2 separate regions of the Homo sapiens genome follow, and region 2 is linked to region 1. Evidence: promoter capture Hi-C in human tissues and cell types (Jung and others, 2019). All regions are on one chromosome and are shown on one strand. The core of a region is centred on a gene start or on the middle of the fragment in contact, and the rest is flanking DNA. Distances in the headings are between cores, read along the strand shown. Region 1 holds the start of NDST3 (N-deacetylase and N-sulfotransferase 3). Region 2 has its middle 280 kb from the start of MIR1973.

Region 1 (4,672 bases), core at 247-2,746:
TGGGAAGCAAAACCACAAATGGCCAATACAAAGTATCATTAGTAGACCCCACTTAATACAATTCACATGTTAGTGGAACCAAATGAAATTTTTAAAAATATATATCATTCGATTCACACTTCTAATCAAACTATAGTTCTGGAGAGGGTAACCTCACACCTTGAATCCAAAATATCTCTTCAGTTGCTGGCCTTCCACTTGTCTTCAGGAGCTGAAACACATGGCATTTGAAAAAAACTGGCGAACAGAGGAAACTCTTGCAGCCTCGCAGCCGCCCTGGTCCAGTGCCAACGGCAGGAGCACCACAGGAAGGGACCGCGCGGGTGCGCCCCACCCTTCCAGCGTCGCCTCGGGGACTCGCACCCCTTTCCCTGGCCGCACAAGACGTTTCATCCTTGGCGGCCGCCGCCAACCCGCCGGGAGGGGCGGTCGGAACTGGCAGGCCGGGGCGGAACCCCCGGGGTCTCCTTGTCGAGGCCCGGGCAGCCAGATCCTCAGGGCCGGTCCGGGCGGGAGCCCGGTCGATGGAGGCGGCTCCCGTCCTCAGCTCCCGCTCCCTCCCCTTCCCCGGGGCGGGCGCGCGCGGGCCGGGAGCTGGGAGGCGGCGGCTCCCGCCCGGGAGGCGGTGGCGAGGGCGGCGGAGGCGCGGCCGGGCGGGTCCCAGGGCCGTGGTTCTCCAGCGCAGGAGTCCCCGGCGCACCCGCTGCGCTCGCCCCGCAGCCGCAGCCTGAGCGGCCGAAGTCGCCACCAGCTGTGTCCGCGCAGATCCCGGGCGCGGAGGGGAGAGGTCGCCCGCTTGTCGCCCCCGCCGGACCCCGGGCACCGCGTAGCACCCAAGCGCCACCCGGACGAGGGGCCCTGGGGAGCGGCTGAGGCCGAAGACCCGAGGGAAGGAGGAGCCCGCGGACGGCTGCAGCCCCAGGTAATCTCCATGGAGGACGGGGCCGGTCTCCTCGCCCAGAAACCCGATCCGGGCGCCTTGGAATGCGGACTCCAGAGGCGGCATCTCGACCAGACAAGTTTCTCGCGGCTTGGAATGAGGGAGTCCTGAAACCGACACTCGTTTTATTTAACCAGCTTTTTTCTCCTGTTTTAAATAAGTTTATTTAGACAATGGAAAGAAAAAAACAAACAGCCTCTTGAGTGACTGTGGGTTTGTAAATATAATCCTAAAAGTTTTTCATGGTGTGGTTATTTGCTTGCTCATATTTATTAACCTGTTAACTCTTCCGCTAGTCAGAAAATTGACATGTAAAATATTCTTTGAGGAACGTTACAAGTTTGCTGTTGTATTCGGGCATCCTGTTATTCATCAGCTTAGTTAGCATCTGTCTTCCCCCGAAGTGGTACCAAAGCCGGTCCCTTGGCGACGGGTCTTGCATGTGACACTCTTGCCCTCTAGTGCCTCACCAGCTTGGTAGCAGTTTGATGGCTAATATTAATAAGATGTTACATAACATGAGAGTACTGGGCCAGGACTGGTGTTGCTACCACTTGTAAAGTCAAAAAGCCTGAGCCGATGGTAACGAGTGGTACTGTTTCCGTTTCTTTTCCATCTATTGCAACTTTCTCAAGCATTTTCAGCTCTGAACTTTAATTCCAGGTAAGTGTATTTATTTATTTATACTGTGCATTAATGCCTCACTCATAAATGTAGGGGCTTTTAAGAGATAACAACTTTGCTTTCAAATAATCTAAAAATTTCAAGATTGAACAAGTGCTTCATTTTATTCTTGAAGAAGAAATATAGAGTATTTTGATTAAATTAAGTGAAACAAAGGACCGTCTCATTCAGGGATGATTTTAAAGCTTCCCTTTCATAAGATTATGGTACTAAAGAAATGACCTCTTGTAATTGTTTAAGATATTCACCAACTTATAATGATTCTGAAGTAGATCTGTTTAACAGAACACATGTCTGTTGCCTTGACAGAATTTTGTAAGGAATATCAGAGACTTTAAACTACCTGCCTATCTACACAGTAATGATCCTCAAAAGGCTTTCTATTTGATGCAGTTTATAGACATTATTTAAAACTATACAATTAATAAAATTAAATGGAAATGGAAAGAATCAATCTAGGTATCAAATACAGAAACTTTAAATTTAAAGAAAACAGATATATCTTCTATTTAATATATCCATTTTGTGGGGGCAGGTAAAAGCAAAGTTACATCTTTAAGGGGTTTACTCAGATCCTTTTTCAAATAGTTTTTCTAATAGCTGGATACTGTTTAAGCATCAGAGTTATTTAATGTCGAAAATGTATTAGTATCTATATTCTTTATAAACATATTGAAATATAGCAACATGTAATCTGGAAGAGTTTAGAAGAAAACCCTTCTAGACAATGCAAACAGCTACATTCTTAATACATTTGTATTAAATTAAAATACAAATCAAATATTGAGATGTGTGCAACTGATCTGGGACACACACTTTTTTTTTGTTTTTTTTTTTTGCCCTTAGAAAATTTCATGTTATCAACTACTGAGCAATGCTGTTCACCACCAGAGAGCAGGATGATATGGCAGAGAAACTCTAGAATATCCGATATTCAGCTGAAGGGAATTTTTTTCCCTTTTTCTTCATCCATACCTTCCTATCAATATTATATTTAAGATGGAGATTTCAAATATAAGTTTGAAGGAGGCTCCTTTTTAAAATAGTACTGAACATATAAAGAGGCTTGCCTAAGATAAGCTCTTTTTTTTCTTTCTCTGGTTAACACAGTATCTACCATTTCTAATTTTGTTATCATTTTTCTTTATCATCTTGATGGTAAAACAGAAGATTTGTTTCTTTGTGTAAATAATGTTAATTTTGAGCTTGTCACATGAGTTAATTTTCTTCATAGTCTTTAAAATGAAGAATTCTTACATTACTAAAATGTTTTAGATAAAATAAAACTTTTATCTCTTTCTGGAGATATTTGTTATAGTTTAGTTTGGTGGAGTTATATATACCCTCTTTTTAAATTAATTTTCTTGAGAAAAGCATTATTTCTGAACATTGAGGCAAATATTAATTTTTGGTGTAACTGAAAAGTTTGTTAAAAAATATATAGTAGAAGAGATAATCAGGCATTGGAGATTCTTTTTCTAAACCATATATTCTGCTAAAGAAGTTATTATAAGCTAAAATGTAAATATGTAATTGTCTACCTGTCATTTCAAAATTTTAAAACTGTAAAGAAATTACAATTTTTTTTCTTTTAATCTTGGGACTCTGATTATATGACTTCCTTGAAACCTGATTGAGTTTCAGCTGCTTTTTGGTGATTAGAGCCTTAAAAGTGCATTTGTTAAGATGCAAAATATATTTTTTTAAACTATATGTAAATACTTTGTGATTTATATACACTATAAAATCAGGGAAATTGAATTAAGGATAAAAACACTATTCTCAACTAAATGAATGCCTTGAATTTCTAATTGCTTAACAGTTCTGACAGTAAGGGAAAACAGTAGAAGTTTACTTTCCCTGTGCTGTGTCTATTATAAATGAGCATTCACACTGAAATGCATGAACTCTGAACACCTGTCCAGATTAGGAATGCTGCCAGGCCACAAAAGTAACGACCTACATTATAAAGATAATTAGTCTGAACAATCCTCAAAACTATTTCATGACTGAAGTTTCTCGTAAAGGGGTGATTTTAATATTTCTTGGTTTGTCTGTTTGTTTATAGTAAAAAACTATACTCTTAGATACCTGGATATCACAGTGAGTGATTTATTCTTTCATGTTACTCTAAACATTTTCATCGATTTCATGTAAGTTACAGGACAAGAAAAAAAAAGTAGTCAGGACCTACTACAATTAATTAATGTCTATAAGAAATTATTTCCCCAAATCTTCTACAAATTACTGAGGGCTATAATTCTTGATTACCTGTTGCCAAATAAGAGCTTAAAAATCAATTATTGCAGTCCTATCCTAAAACCTTTAAGCATCTCAATTATGGGTATCCATTTTACATGTGTTTCATTGCTGAATTTTTTTTTTCATTAAAATATTTGAAAATAACATGAAAGTAGACCTAAATTCTAGGACTGGCTCTGCCAAGACAGGAGTGGCCTTGAACAGCTCCCTTGCTGGCTCTGGGGCTTGGTTTCTTCACCTGAAAAATGAGGATTCCAGAGACCCTTTTTTATCCTGTTTGTTCAACATTTTAGAAATTGATCTGGAGGCCAGGACGAAGATAGATGAGAAAACATCAGTGAATAATACAAAATTTAACTTGGTGATAAGTACTATTGTCTAGATTTCTGCTAAGTAGAGATGTTACAGTTTTTACTCATAGAATAGTTACCTTGTACCAGGCACTGTTCTACTTTACATATTAATTTTTAGCTCATATAATCTTCACAAAGATTATTTAAGGTAAATATTATTCCTGTTTCACAAATGAGGAAATTGAGGCACTGAGCGGTTACCTACCTGCCTAAGATCACATCCCTGGCAAGTGCTGAAGCTGGTATGCAGTTTGAGTCCGGCTCCAGCACACATTCCTTTAACCGTTATACTACATTGTCTCTCTATAGGTTTCAAATATTTGTTCTTGATATGCCTCTTGATGGAACAGAGGTAATCCATATACCACTCCAACAATTTCCATCACTTCCCTTACATATGAAATACTCATTCATTCACCCAGGAGGTATTTAC
Region 2 (5,464 bases), core at 1,813-4,312, 1.4 Mb before region 1:
AAAGTAAGAAACAAAATTTGGAAAGAAAGGAAAACTATTTGTAGAAACAATATTTACATATAAAGAAAACAAAATTATAGACAATTAAAACTAGGGAAAATATTTAGGAGCTCCTCTGGAGCTTACTCTTAAATTATTGATTTTATTTATCTAGGTATTTCATCTAATAGATATTTCAGCCTACATTTATATCTGAAAGATTTCATAGCACTTTAAGATTTAATAACATTGAGATTATATAAATATAACAAAGTAAAAATATATTAAAAGCTAGATAAAAGGGACTGACCAAAATTGTGAAGCCTCAGTGAGGAATGAATTCTGGCTTTTCTATCAAATGTGTTTTACAGTGTGTAATCCATACTTGAACCCTTTGTTTAATATTTCAAATCCTATTATACTTTTTAAATTTTCCAATTATTAAAATTTAATGTTACATCACATTTTACCTTTAAAGTATTTCATAATTGTGCTATCTATTGCTCTCTAACATTTGTATATGTTGTCCTTGTCTGATATTTCTAACATTTTGAATGATAATTATATCTTAACTACAGATTAGTCTAAGAATGTCAAACCCATTTTCAATTTGAGCAAGTCAAGTTCTCCTAAGGTGAACTTTCCTCTTCTCACCTCTGAAATCAATGTCACTTCAATGTCTCTTTGAAATCTCAAACTTGACTGTGTAAACAAATAACAGAAATACTACTATAAATATATATTTCTTAGAGAGGAGTTTGGCAACTGCTATTTTTCAGCAGTTTGAATATGATATTTCTGAGTGCGTGTATGTATGCACGTGTGTGTGCCTGTGCCTGTGTGTGGTATTTTTTCTTTCTTTCTTTTTTTATTATACTTTAAGTTTTAGGGTTCATGTGCACAACGTGCAGGTTTGTTACATATGTATACATGTGCCATGTTGGTGTGCTGCACCCATTAACTCATCATTTAACATTAGGTATATCTCCTAATGCTATCCCTCCCCACTCTCCCCACCCCACAATAGGCCCCAGTGTGTGATGTATCTTGATTTTCTCTAACCTCCTCAGATCTGAGGTTAGACGTCTGAAATTAATTTTGGAAAATTATTGGTTATTTTTCTTTCAAATTTTTCTTCTCTCCACTTATCTTTCACTTTGAGATTTTAATTACACATTTATTATATCATTTGATATTATTCCATGGCTCCCGGATTCTTTGTGAAGACTTTATTTCACCATTTTTATCATTATGCTTTATTTCTGTGATTTCTACTAACCTATCTTCAAATTTGTTAATTCTTTTTATGGCTTTGTAAAATCTACTGATCAACTCATAGAATACATTTTTTTTTTATTTTGGTTACTCTGTTTTGCATTTCTATCAATTACATGTGATTCTTTTTCAGTTTCCATATTTCTGCAGAAATTACTGCTCTGATCTTGCATTTAGTTTATTTGATGACAACCTTTAAAATATTAATTATAGTTATTATGAATTCACCTCTGATAGTCCCAATATATATAAGTCTGCTTCTGTTCTGCTTTTTTTAATACATCATTTTGTAATGTTTCTTGCAATTTTTTATGACTCATAATTGTTTTTGTCAGAAGACATCTTGTATAGTATAGCTGAAGCTTATTTAAATAGTATTTATGCCCTGAAATGGGCAAATTTTTCCCTTTGCTAGATCTTTAGTATGGGAGTTTGAGTCAGTAAGGTGAGCTTATTTATGTTACTGGGCTCAAATTCTTCTAAGATCACTATGTTTAAAATGGAGCCTGAGTTACCAGAGCGCAATTCTCACTCTTTGGTCTATCTGCAGTTTTAGATATCCCTTGTGTTGTGTCTCCACGTTTGCTGGTGTCTTTGGGACTATGGGTGCTGCTCTAGTATTCTGATCCAACTTCTCTGTTGGACAATTATAATGTCCAACAGTGACAATGTTCTTGCAGGACATTGTCAGAGTTCTTGCTACTTCCCAGCTCTACTTCTTGATCAAGCACATATTCCTGCCCTGTCTTAGTGGTAGATTTTTCCTTTTTCCTTTCTTCAGCTGCAATGGGTTTTCACTGGTACCCAAAGGAGGCAACGTTTTCTGTTGTACCTACAGAAGCTTAAGGTTTTTGCTCAGTAAGAGAGATTTGAGGAAATGGATTTAGGCAGGATTCTGCGCCTTTACTGCAGCCACCAGTGTTTCTATCCCAGGGATTATAGTATTGTTAAGGTACCCTGAAGGTCTGATAAATGTTAAACAGGTGATTTCCTTCTGACAAAAGTCTCTACATAGTGAGAAGTTTCTGAATTTTTTCAGACATCATTTACTACCACACAAACCTCCAATTCACTTTTCCTTATAACCTATTAAGTGAATTAATGTGTCTTCTAGTATTTTCTTTTGCCTATTTACCCCAAACTATCTTTTCTTACTAGCATTCATTTGTACATGATGGCCTAATCTAGAATTCATGAGTTAAAAACTAAAATTATAATAATAAATTAAATGTCTTTAAAATCAGAAAAAAATAGGAAGAGGGCTTTGAGAGTTATTGTTTCCTGGGTTTTTAAGAGACAAACTACTAGGATCCACTTATATCAGAAGTGAAAATAAAATTCATTAAGCTTGCACATCACATCATAAAGTGAGCACTGTTTTTTTCCCACTTACATTGAGCTTTTAATTTTTCTTTTACTTAGAAAAATAAAAATATTTCTGTTTTACGTGAAATTTTTAAGTGATGAAGAACCACTTATTTTTCAGGTTATAACTGGTAAATATGAAATTATTTTAGCTGATAAATTTTAATAGCTAAAATTATTTTGAAATTAGAGAATTAGTAGTTAAGTTTTCAGTCATGAAGGACAATATTCTATCAACAAACATAGATATATCTAAAGCAATATTAAAATGTATATGAGTTGTTTAAAACATCCAATGAATTACTTCTCAAAGCAGGAGTCATACTTTCTAACAGTATTGAAATAATCTGTCACAAATATATACTGATATTTTAAGAAGTGTCACATTATACCAGTGCTAATTTTCAAATCAGTCAGCACGTGCCCATTATTGAACTCAACTGGGAGTCACAAAGAATACAGTCCTACAACTGTTCATAATAGAATTGCAAGAGCTGAGACAAATGAAGAATGAAATTTGTTCAACAAGAACTCTTTCAAGAAAAAAATTCTTTCCACTTGATTTTATAAAATAAATCTTCTAAAAACCCTTGATTATTCTTTAATTACATCAGCAATCTAGGAGACCTGTGTCTAAATGGAAGAAAGGCCTTGGACTTCCCCAGGCATCCAATATCTCGATCTCTGCATCAGAACATGAAGAAATGGATGAGGGTTATAGTACATTATGCCAGAGTCAATGCCATTTGGCTCTTTCAGTTTCAGAAAATAAATTATATTTATTTTTTCAACTTAATTGCTAATAGGGAGGATACAATTATAAATACTTTCAATTATATATGACATGCAATTTTATAAGTACTTATTTTTATTCTAATATAATAATTATACAACTCCAAAACCTGGGTGATTGAATATGCTAAAACAAACAAACAAAAACAACCAACAAACTAGTCTGCCAACACCAGTATATTCTATTTTTTTGTTCTTTGGGAAGTACTAAAAAAATTATTCTCTAGTTCCACAAAGAAGTCTAACTAGCGCTACAGTAAAGACTCATAAATTCTTTGGGCAATGACATCTGGAAACGTTCCAGAAAAAACCTTAACTAATATGCAATCCATATGGCACGTTCCTGGAAGCAAACCTTCAGAGAGAATCAGAATATAGTCCAGCTGCTCTTTAACAGAACATGCAATGAATCTTCTGCAAACTCAACTGCTATACCTGTGCTTGAGAGACAGTTTTATTCAGCTTGATATCTATTAGTATGTAATAACTTTCTTTTCTCTTTTTATTTTTAGGTATACCCTAATCATGGTATTTTAACTCTTGCTTTTCTTTAGTTTTAAATATTTGTGGGTACCTAGTAGGTGCATATATTTGGTATTTTAACTTTTAACTTCATCTTTTAATCTGCTAAATTTTAGCCTCTATTTCCCCATTAGAACCAAACGTGACTTCTTTCCATTAACCACAATAGGGAGAAAATAATTGAAAGAATGAGATGGTTGAGGCATGTTTTGTTTGTTTTTTAAAATTGTTTCCATCTTCTAAAACCTTGAGAGATGGATAGATAGATATTTAGATATACTTAGAGATATTAATAATATAATAGCTACATATACTATTTATTATATAAGTAATGCCTATTACTTATATAAATGTGGTACCAATTTCTTATATGAAAGTAATGCTTATTACTTATCTAATATGCTTATTTAATAGACATTTCCTAAATTCCTTTTATGGATTAATTCAACCAATTTTGAGGCTATATCTGTTATACCCAATCTACATATAATGAAACTGAAGCTCTAGAGGTTATGTAATCTGTTCAAATTCACTCAAATAATAAATAATGAAACACAGACACAATACTATGCACAGGCTATCTGAAAAGTGACTCTTCTAGTTAATTGAAGAGCCCCTAGAATGGAGGACAATACATTTATCCCATAGTGTGTTCTGAAGACAAGAAATATGGAAGAGAAATACACACACACACACACCCATATCACTGAGGAAAAAACAAACAAATCACATTTATACAGTTTGCTTGACATAAATAATTGTCCATCATATAAACATATAAAGTTGTGTCATATGAAACCTTTGACCTAAAGTCTGACAGGACAATAACTGCTTAAAATAAAATCCAAGAGTGATATCTTACGAGGTTTTGCTAGTCACCAATTAAAAAAATAATTTATATTAGCTATTATCCATGGTTACTATAAATAACATTTTTCTTTGTAATTAAAATAACTTATTGAGTACTTCTATAATAGGCATTTTCTAAATTCCTTGCATGGATTAACTCATTCAATTTTGAGGCTAATTCTTTTATGCCCAATCTACAGATAATGAAACTGAAGCTCCAACGGTTATGTAATCTGTTCAAATTCACCCAAATAATAAATAATGAAATACAGACACAATACTATGAATGGGCTATCTGAAAGGAGAACAACACAGTAAGCCCATTGTGTATTTTAAAGATAAGAAATATGCTAGGGATATTTTAGAGAACATACTTACTGTAAGTCAAGCCCCTAGAGTTAATCTCGACAGTTTCAGACATTTTTGACAATAAAAGAATATCTAGACATTTTCTTCTGGGATACATAAGTGTCACTCATTACTATAGAAAATCTATGATTTCTAGTAGGAGCTGCAAAGCAGCGGCTGTAGTGCACTGCTTCTGGAACTGATCTCAGTGAAAAGAAGTAAAGATCAAGCAGTTTCCAACTAAAGTGAGATTCACTTGTAAATGTTTAAGAAGATAAGACATATTGAATAAGTGTGTAGAAAGATGGACTTTATGTGCACAATAAATACCATC

What was found. The method cuts DNA at HindIII sites, captures the fragments that hold promoters and counts their contacts. A contact is called where the count stands out against the background at its distance.
Region 2: a fragment that was not itself captured here is called in contact with the fragment with the promoter of NDST3 in region 1 in 1 of the 25 tissues and cell types used here (mesenchymal stem cells).

The regions. Positions count from the first base shown.
Region 1 is chr4:118,032,990-118,037,661 of GRCh38, forward strand. NDST3 (N-deacetylase and N-sulfotransferase 3) reads left to right here and starts at 1,497. Exons shown (of 14, transcript NM_004784.3): 1 at 1,497-1,603. The HindIII fragment of the contact is 9,214 bases long and covers 1-3,713 here.
Region 2 is chr4:116,581,749-116,587,212 of GRCh38, forward strand. No RefSeq gene overlaps it. Among named protein-coding and RNA genes, the nearest start is that of MIR1973, 280 kb to the left of the region's middle. The HindIII fragment of the contact is 5,800 bases long and covers 163-5,464 here.